Regions from separate parts of the Homo sapiens genome. Here all the other regions are linked to region 1. Evidence: promoter capture Hi-C in 16 types of primary human blood cells and fetal thymus (Javierre and others, 2016). All regions are on one chromosome and are shown on one strand. Each heading gives the region's core, a stretch centred on a gene start or on the middle of the fragment in contact. The rest is flanking DNA. Distances are from core to core; before and after follow the strand shown.

Region 1 (3,131 bases), core at 310-2,809:
AAGTCACAGCCTGTGACTAACCAAGTGATGAGAATGGGGACGCTAGAGCAAAATTTTTCCTTGGCTGGTTGAGTGTCCAGGGGTAAATAGCTTAAACACTCAGAGGTTCAACTTCTGCCAGGCAGGAGATCAATAATGTCTGCACAGCCTGGAGCTCCCTGGAGGAGAGTGTTACACCCTAGAACTGCAAGGAGTTACTACTGCGCTCTCAGGCCTCCTCTGTCAGCTGCAAGGAAGGGGAGCGAAATCCTGATACAGGGACTCCACCACACCACATAATGGGGCTGGGGTGAGGGGTCTAGGGGGGTGTCAGCTGCCCTGGTGGGGACAGGGAGGCAGCCAGAGTCCCCCTGTCCCCTGCTCTCTCCCTGCAGTCCCTCCCAAACCCTGAAGACATCAGACCAGGGAGTGGGACGTAGAAGGAGGGCTGAGGTCTGGAGAGCACCCTAAAACAAATGTCAGGAGAACAGAGGGAAGAATGCAAGCCAGAGTTTTCCTGGGAAAGGAAGATGAGGAAGATGCCCAGGACCCCACCTCCCCACCCCCAGGAAAGCCTGCTCTCCATATTCCTCCGAGGCAAAACATCTGGAGCCTGTCTTCTTGGGGCCAAGTTTAAAGTCCCTCTGCGCCCCAGTGAGGCTCAGCCCCATTGCTGCCTCTCTGTCCTAACTCCTTACCCTGATTTTTTCCTTCCTCCGAGCTCTCAATTCTGTCTGGCTCAGCCCTTGCCCTCTGCCCACTCAGGGAGGAGAGGCAGAACTCAGCTGAAAAGAAGGAGGGGGGCAGGCTTGGAACCCAGGCGGGACAAGCCCCACTCCTTGCAGGTCCCGTGGGTCGCAGAGGCATGCCACTCCTGGAGGGGTACCCCTACAAGCATGCTACCTGAAGGGTCAAAGTAGTGTTTAAAAGCAAAGAATACAGAAGCTTCGGGGGTGGAGAGGAGGGCGTCACGAGATTAAGGATGATTGTCCAGAGGTCTTTTCTCCTTTATTCTCACCGTTCAGAGGGGAACCCCAATCCTACCCCCACCTGGTGACCTCTCGATCGCTAGAAGCCTCTCTCACAAACCCCTGCTGGCAAGTCCCCCGCCTGCTCCCAACTTTCTCCCTGGAGCCTGGGCAGCTTCCCCTAAGGACAGAGGAGGGGAAGCCTGGCTCTCCTGAAGAAACTCACAGGAGTGAATCCCTGGCAAAGTCCCCTCTTCACTCAGAAGCCGCCGCACCCCACGGCCGCAGCCAGTGCAGCGCGGGGTCCCTGGAGCATCCTCCCCGGGAGGGCGCGCTCTGTACCTGCGGCATCGCGGAGCCCGGCAGGCAAGGTCCGGGTTTCTTATTCCGGGGCCGGATCAGGAGACGCTTCTTCCAGAAGCCGGCAGGCGAAGGGCAGGTCCCCGCTCCCTTCCTCCTCTGCTCGGGGCTCTTTCCCGGCTCTGGCGGGGGAGTTACCTTCGCGCCGCCGCTGCAGATCCCCCGACCCGGCCCGCGCCGGACTCCCTGTCCCCGCCTCCGGTGGCCGTGAGGCGCCGAGGTGCGGGCTCTTGGCGAGGCGTGTCGCCAGCTGGGCTGCAGAGGCCGGGATCGCCCTGGGCGGGAGCGTCCGGATCGCCCTGGGCGGGAGCGTCTGGAGCTCCCAGGCGGCAGCTCGCGACGAGGACGCGCGGGAGGGAGCCGGGCCAGGCGGGCTGCGCGTTGCCCGGCTCAGGCTTCGGAACGGCCGCCTGGGGCAGGAACGGGGTCGCTGGGGCTCCGGGCAGGGCTCTGCGTCAATCCCGCGCCGGGGGCACCCATGCAGGGCGGCTGTGCCCGCCTCGGGGCACGGGGCTCCTCGGCGGCTCACCTTGGCAGCCCAGCGCCGTCGGAGTGGACGGACACGGCCCCGCTCAGCCGCGAGCTTGCAAAGGACCGAGGAGCCTCCCCCGCTGCTCACACACCTCCTCAGGGGACACTCAGGGGCCGGCCCCAACCTGGTCCCCTGGGCCAGCCTGAACGGACACCAGGGCCATCTTTGTTGCCAGCTGCCCTACCTCTCCGTAAAAGAGGCTCAGAGAAGTGCTTTCTGGAGAGCAAACAAGGGGGCGGGGTAGCACACTGGAGAGAGGAAGGACCCCCGCCCAGGGATGTCTGCTTAGAAGGCTGGGACGGACAGCGCTGACTTACAGAGCACAGTCTACCTTTACAAGCCCATAGATTCCTCAAAACGTGAGGCATATAGTCCCGCAATCCCACTCCAAGGTATGTAACCCCAAACTATTGAAAGCAGGGACACACATACACTGATGTTCATGGCAGCACTATTCACAGTAGCCAAAAGACAGAAACAACCCAAATGTCCATCAGCTAAGTGGATTAACAAAATACATATAGTATATACATGCAATAGAATATTATCCAGCTGTAAAAAGAAATGATAACAAGTGTTGGTGAGAATGTGGAGAAACTGGAACCCTGTGCACTGTCGGTAGGAAAGTAAAATGGTGAAGCCACTGTAGAAAACAGTATAGGGTTTCCTCAAAAAGTTAAAAAATACAATTACCATATGATCGAGTGTTTCCACTTCCGGGTGTCTAACCCAAAAAATTAAAAGCAGGGTGATACGGTTTGGCTGTGTCCCCACCCAAATCTCAACTTGAATTGTATCTCCCAGAATTCCCACGTATTGTGGGAGGGACCCAGGGGAAGGTAATTGAATCATGGGAGCCTGTTTTTCCCATGCTATTCTCGTGATAGTGAATAAGCCTGACGAGATCCTGTGGGTTTATCAGGGGTTTCCACTTTTGCTTCTCCCTCAGTTTCCTCTTGATGCTACCACGTAAGGAATGCCTTTCACCTCCTGCCTTGATTCTGAGGCCTCCCCAGTCATGTGGAACTGTAAGTCCAATTAAACCTCCTTTTGTTCCCAGTTTCCGGTATGTCTTTATCAGCAGTGTGCAAGTGAACTAATACACAGGGTCTCAAAGGCATGTTTGTACATCCATGTTCATAGCAGCATTATTCACCATAGCGAAAACATGGAAACAATCCAAATGTCCATCAATGATGAAGGGACAAACAAAATGCTCCACATACACACATACACTCACATGGGAACTTCCAAAAGTTTGTGGGAAAATGGAATTAAAAGATAAAAATACA
Region 2 (3,131 bases), core at 371-2,870, 230 kb before region 1:
TTTTTATTTTCAGGACCAAGGCATTTGGCGTTTTTTGTGTGCCTAGTAATGTTGTTTGCCGAGTGTATTAGTCAGGGTTCTCTAGAGGGACAGAACTAATAGGGGATGGAGATATATTTCTGAGTTTATTAAGTATTAACTCACACGATCACAAGGTCCCACAATAGGCTGTCTGCAAGCTAAGGATCGAGGAGAGCCAGTCCAAGTTCCCCGACTGAAGAACTTGGAGTCCCATATTCAAGGACAGGAAGCATCCAGCATGGGAGAAAGATAGGCTGAAAGTCTAGGCCAGTCTCGTCTTTTCACGTTTTTCTGCCTGCTTTATATTCTAACCGTGCTGGCGGCTGATTAGATGGTGCCTAGCTAGATTAAGGGTGGGTCTACCTTTCCCAGCCCACTGATTCAAATGTTAATCTCCTTTGGCAACACCCTCACAGACACACCCGGGATCAATACTTTGCATCCTGCAATCCAATCAAGTTGACAGTAAGTATTAACCATCACACCAAGCTTTTGCTGGAGCCTCTTGATGACAATTTTGATTGAGTCAGAAGGATGAATTTCGCAGAGATGTTGGTTATATTAACAACTCATTGCACAGATGGAGGACCTGAGGTCCACATCCAGCTACAAATTTCTGCCTGCCTCCTGCCTCCAGGCTGATCTGGGGACGTGTTGGCCTCTCAGCATTATTGCCCATGCCCTAGTCTGGTAGAAGAGTGGTTTAAAAGTGTGACTGTTTTATTCTTCATAAGAATCAGGCTGCCTTGGTTGAAATTGTGGCCCCATCACTTTGCAACTTTGTGGCCTCTGGCAAGCTATGGCACTTCACTGACCCATATATGTGATGGAGATAATGATACGGTTATTACAGGAGCACACTTGATGATAGGTGTAAAGCACTCAGTACAATGCCTGTTTGTAGGAAGCATCTAATAAATTCTAGTTGCCAGTATAACTAAGCACTTGCCCTATTTTTCAAATGCTATTTTAGCCAGATCAAATAGGTAGGAAAAAGCCTGTCAATCATGAAGTTTATACTTTCCTGTTTCTAAAAAGGTACACTTCTAAAAATTTATATAATTCATTTATAGCTATTAACTTAAACTTGGAAAGTTTGGATATTTGGTCTGTCTTCACAAGTGTTTATCTGAGCCCTACCTCTCAAATTAACATGTATCACCATTGATGTGCATTATGTTGATTCTTATACCTATTATATGCATGTGTGAAACTAAGCCCCATAAAAACAGAATTTAGGCATTCCTGCTGAAAGGAAGTGAATTGAAGGGAAGAGAAGCAGAGCCTTTGCAAAGAGAAAATTGTCCTATCTCTCAACCAGTGTCAGAATGTGGAAATGTTTACAAAATGCTCATTAAAAGAAATAGGGATTGCAAGATAGAAACAAATTCTGGTGCACAAGTTTACACTAGGGAGATAAGAAAGGCTAGGCCCCTATAGGGGATTTTGTTATCCAATTACTGCAACCTGACTTTTAGGGGGAGAGGAAGAGTGGTAGGGGGAGGGAGAGAGAGAGGAAGAGTTTCCAAACTTGTCTCCAGTGACAGGAGACATTTACGTTCCACAAGATAAAACTGCCACTTAGAGCCCAGGGAAGCTAAACCTTCCTGGCTTGGCCTAGGAGCTCGAGCGGAGTCATGGGCTCTCTGGTCCTGACACTGTGCGCTCTTTTCTGCCTGGCAGCTTACTTGGTTTCTGGCAGCCCCATCATGAACCTAGAGCAGTCTCCTCTGGAAGAAGATATGTCCCTCTTTGGTGATGTTTTCTCAGAGCAAGACGGTGTCGACTTTAACACACTGCTCCAGAGCATGAAGGATGAGTTTCTTAAGACACTAAACCTCTCTGACATCCCCACGCAGGATTCAGCCAAGGTGGACCCACCAGAGTACATGTTGGAACTCTACAACAAATTTGCAACAGATCGGACCTCCATGCCCTCTGCCAACATCATTAGGAGTTTCAAGAATGAAGGTAAGTTTTTGCTGATGAAATTTTGCTAGGATTTTTTTCAAGACACAATAAGTAAATTTACAATGCATGGGAATGATATAGGTAAGGGTAAATACATCTATATAAGGATGTTAAATACATATGGATACACAAAAACAAGGCACATTTTGTTCTATACCAATTATATAGTCATTTCAGGAACCTCGAAAAATACTTACAAACATCTTTTAATCCAAAGCCACAAAACATCTATCAATTTGACATCATAATTGGGTCCTTTTAAAAAATGTTAATTTGAACACCAAGTAATACAAAGAATTAATGTTGGTCTACTGCCGTACCTTTGTCATTTTCCAAATAGGCCTTGATTGCCATATGGGCTTTTAATTAACTAAAAAATTTCTCAACTTCTACTTAGAATAAAAAGGGTAAAAACAGTCAAAAAACATCAAATTGTGATTTGTGTTTTGTTCAAACTTTTGATAAGTTTTTATTTTGTGACCTTATTTAAGAAATGTTCAAACAGGATGGAAATATATTTTAAAGATTCTTCCTAAGGCTGTGTTGTTTGATGTGTCATGTACATCCTTAAAGCACTGTTTACAGTTTCCAGGAAGTGTAGATGGCCCATTAATCATCCAGCTCATCATTTCCGTCTTTATAAAGAGCAACGTACAAGCTTTGAATTATTGGTGGGAAAAGTGTGTTTTCTTCTCTTAGGTCTTTAAATTTGGTAACTAAATCTAATGAGCTAGCAAGTTAATGTTTTTGTTTGTTTGTTTGTTTGTTTGTTTTTTGGTTAATATGGTCCTAGTAGGAAAAAAAACCCCTGATATCTAGATATCTATAGTAGAAGCTGAAGGTCCAAAGGAACTAATTTAATTTTTGCCAGTTATGCTTTTATAGTCACTAACCAGGTATAAAAGAAGCTTCCCGTTAATATTGGCCAGATGTTCTTGAAAGAAGAAAGGTAATAGTGAAGAAATAGCTCAGGATTTGGGATTTTGAGAGCTAGTTGGCTTAGTGGTTGTGAATAATTAGCTGATGCCTCAGAGCCTCAATTTCCTCATCTATAAAGTGGGAGTAATAATACCTACATAACATAGTTGAGTGACTCAAAGGAGGTTACAGATAAGAAAGCACTCCATTTACTATGAAGT
Region 3 (3,131 bases), core at 353-2,852, 140 kb after region 1:
ATGAACTAAGACATATAGGAAGGAAGATTCTAATCAAATCTCTCAAGCAAACAACACAGCTTTCTTTCTACCTCCTGAAAGAGGAATTGTCTTATTTGTTTAAATGAAACTCCCACTATGAAGACCATCCACATTCAAATCAAAGTAGTAAACAGATCTCAAAGTTAGAACTATTACAATATCCACTATTTTATATTATGTTTGCCACTATTTCCATGTTAGCAAAGATAACAAGAGTTGCTTCAAAAAACAAAAAGGACCTATTATGAGGTGCCTTAAAAATTCTAACTAGATTCAAGCTAAAATTGGCTCTTTCCATAAGTCAAATAGGCATTTTGTCATAATATCACTGGGTTTTTAAAACAAATAAGCTTTAGGATATGACAAAGCAATCTACATAATGCAGATCTTTGGTGTTTTTTTTTTTTAAGTACAATCTTATAGAGAGCACCGATCTCTATTACCCTTCCTTCTATCTATTTCATCAGTTTAAATGAGACTTCCTCTGGAGACATCACAGCAAAGTAATTACCACCCTGGGAATGGACATATGCTGAGCAATAACAACCACAAAAAAGACACATCTTTGAAGACAGAATGAATATAATCCACCTAGTTCTGACCATTCAATTTCATAAGAATCTGGCCATACATCATATTTCTATCCTTTAAATCTGTTACAAGAAAGCGGTAAAATAAAACTTGGAGATAAAGAGCAGAGGTAGAAATTTAAAACAGAGATGACACAAATTTGGTCGGCCATTATTTTATTAGTCAAACTATACACAAGATTGCATAAGAATGGAGATGCAGTGTGATTTATGCAATATTGTATTCCTAAAAAGAGTAGTGAATGTTTGATTTTTAAATTCAAGTTACAATTTAAACAATGTTTAGAAATCTTTCACCATGCTAACAGCCACTCCTAATTTCTCTCTCTCAAAGCTGTCCTCTGGCTCTTGGCAGGTTGAGCTTTTGAGTGCAACAAGCACATGACAAATTGACAGGCTCTGAGCTTGTGTCCGCTGCTGAACTTGGGAATCGTGCCCTGTATTCCTCATCCTTTTGGGCGAAGGCTCCCTTTCCTTGAGTATGTCATGGTCATCAGAGTCAGGAATGTTGAACTAACAGGAGAAGCAAGAGTCAGAACAGGAATCCACATAGCTTTGGTCTGAACTCTGAATATTCTTTAAGTGACGCTTGCTTCTGATTATAGGCTAAGACCATGTTCTTCTCATTCATGAGCATTTTAAAACTTCAGATGAGTCTCTAAACAACGTTAAATACTGACATGGTCCCAAACTTACAAAGGCTAGGATGTTAAATACAAAGGCATAACATTGTTTAAGACTGGAAAAGGTAACATACTTAAGGAAACTACATTTCTTTACAAAAGCATCACAAACCCAGAGATCACGCAATATTCTGTTTGAGTATGTTTTCCTCAGCGGAAAGCACTTAATATTTAAATTATACTTGGTTAAATATTGGCAGTCAGCAAATCCAGCCACAAAGAAAGTGAACCCATGAGTATGGTCCATGATCATCTTTTCCTTTTCCTAAAACTGTTAATACAGGAGATTCCAAAATGAAGAGTAAAAATGATACTCAAGTCTAATGTTTGATCCTCTAACGTAAACCTAAATTCATATTACTCACTGAATAAGTTAAAAAATCAATGTCAAACTACATATACTCCAACTAAAATGCTATACGTACATGAAGTCCAAAAAGTAGCTTTTAAAAAGTTACAAAGTATACAAAAACCTAACAATATTAATAAACAAAAAGGAAGATTACACACCAAAAAATTAGGAATGAAAACAATGGCATAATTACACAAAAAATAAAAGTTTTGAAAAATAACAGAATACTGTAAATACTTTATAGGAATACATTTGTAAATATGGCCAAAAGAGACAATTACCTAATAACACCAAATAGATTTTTTTAAAGTATGTTTACGTGTATGTATGTGCAGCCTGTTTGAAAGTATTTATTTATTTTTTCTTTTTTTGAGACAGAGTCTTGCTCTGTTACCCAGGCTGGAGTGCAGTGGCATGATCTCTACTCACTACAACCTCTGCCTCCAGGTTCAAGCAATTCTCATGCCACAGCCCCCTGAGTAGCTGGGACTACAGGCGCCCGCCACCACAACTGGCTAATTTTTGTGTTTTTAGTAGCAATGGGGTTTCACCACATTGGCCAGGCTGGTCTCAAACTCCTGGCCTCAAGTGATCCACCTGCCCTGGCCTCCCAAAGTGCTGGGATTACAAGTGTGAGCCACTGCACCTGGCTTGAGAGTATTTAATTATTAGAGAAAGGAGATTGAATTGGACCTGTAATATTTCAGAAGTACAATCAATAATTAAAAATCTTTTCAATCCCTCCCAAAACAAGACCCCAGTGGATTTAAAGATTTTTCTGAATATTCAAACTTTTCTTGATATCACAAAAGGGTTAAGGACTCCCAACTGCTTCAATGAGACAAGTTTAACTTTGATTCTAAAAGCAAACAAGAGCAGGCAAAATATTGGCAAACCCAACCTCACCATGATTAAAAGATATAACTACCTACATGAGAGACATTGTTGGTGTATGCCTTTTAACAAATTCATGAGATTATAAATTAAAACTTCAACAGATCATGCTATAACTTTAGAAGTGGTGCAAAGGATGCATTATCCCTGCAAAAAATGAAACTAAAATACAAATCAATTTCCTATAGCTTTCTCTTAGAGTTATCATTAAATACTAAAGAATGATAGATGTATACCCCCAAAAAGCACCTTATTTTCAGTGTTTTGTTTGTTTGTTTAATTTGGAAAGCTTTTTTTTTTAACAAAATAAGTTGAGGAAAGGCTATTATTATAGGATTTTCCAGATATTTCACAAGTACAATTTTAATTTCATGAGAAGAAAAACAATCTCAATTCGGGAACTTTGTGCAATAAAAAAACACAACCACCCAAAGACGTATATTTTGAGGGTCAATAATAAAAGGCAAAAAAGAAAAACTGCAACTTATAGAGCTACTGCCTCAATCATCCACGACCCCAAGTGAGTAAGATTTTATTAAAATGAAATAAAAGCACTGACAGCTATGAATTCGCCCTGAGGGCATAACCAAT

The links. Contacts are between HindIII fragments. The CHiCAGO score rates a contact against its expected background, and 5 or more counts as called.
Region 2: the fragment with the promoter of BMP10 here is called in contact with the fragment with the promoter of PROKR1 in region 1 in 6 of 17 cell types (activated CD4 T cells, naive CD4 T cells, non-activated CD4 T cells and 3 more); the score reaches 6.8 in activated CD4 T cells.
Region 3: a fragment that was not itself captured here is called in contact with the fragment with the promoter of PROKR1 in region 1 in 1 of 17 cell types (megakaryocytes); the score reaches 5.7 in megakaryocytes.

The regions. Positions count from the first base shown.
Region 1 is chr2:68,642,007-68,645,137 of GRCh38, reverse strand. PROKR1 (prokineticin receptor 1) reads right to left here and starts at 1,559. Exons shown (of 3, transcript NM_138964.4): 1 at 1,290-1,559. The HindIII fragment of the contact is 2,701 bases long and covers 927-3,131 here.
Region 2 is chr2:68,869,886-68,873,016 of GRCh38, reverse strand. BMP10 (bone morphogenetic protein 10) reads left to right here and starts at 1,620. Exons shown (of 2, transcript NM_014482.3): 1 at 1,620-1,992. The coding sequence starts at 1,659. RefSeq lists a silencer at 1,644-1,804. The HindIII fragment of the contact is 2,140 bases long and covers 513-2,652 here.
Region 3 is chr2:68,498,724-68,501,854 of GRCh38, reverse strand. The region is part of intron 2 of APLF (aprataxin and PNKP like factor); the gene reads right to left. Among named protein-coding and RNA genes, the nearest start is that of APLF, 33 kb to the right of the region's middle. The HindIII fragment of the contact is 2,458 bases long and covers 374-2,831 here.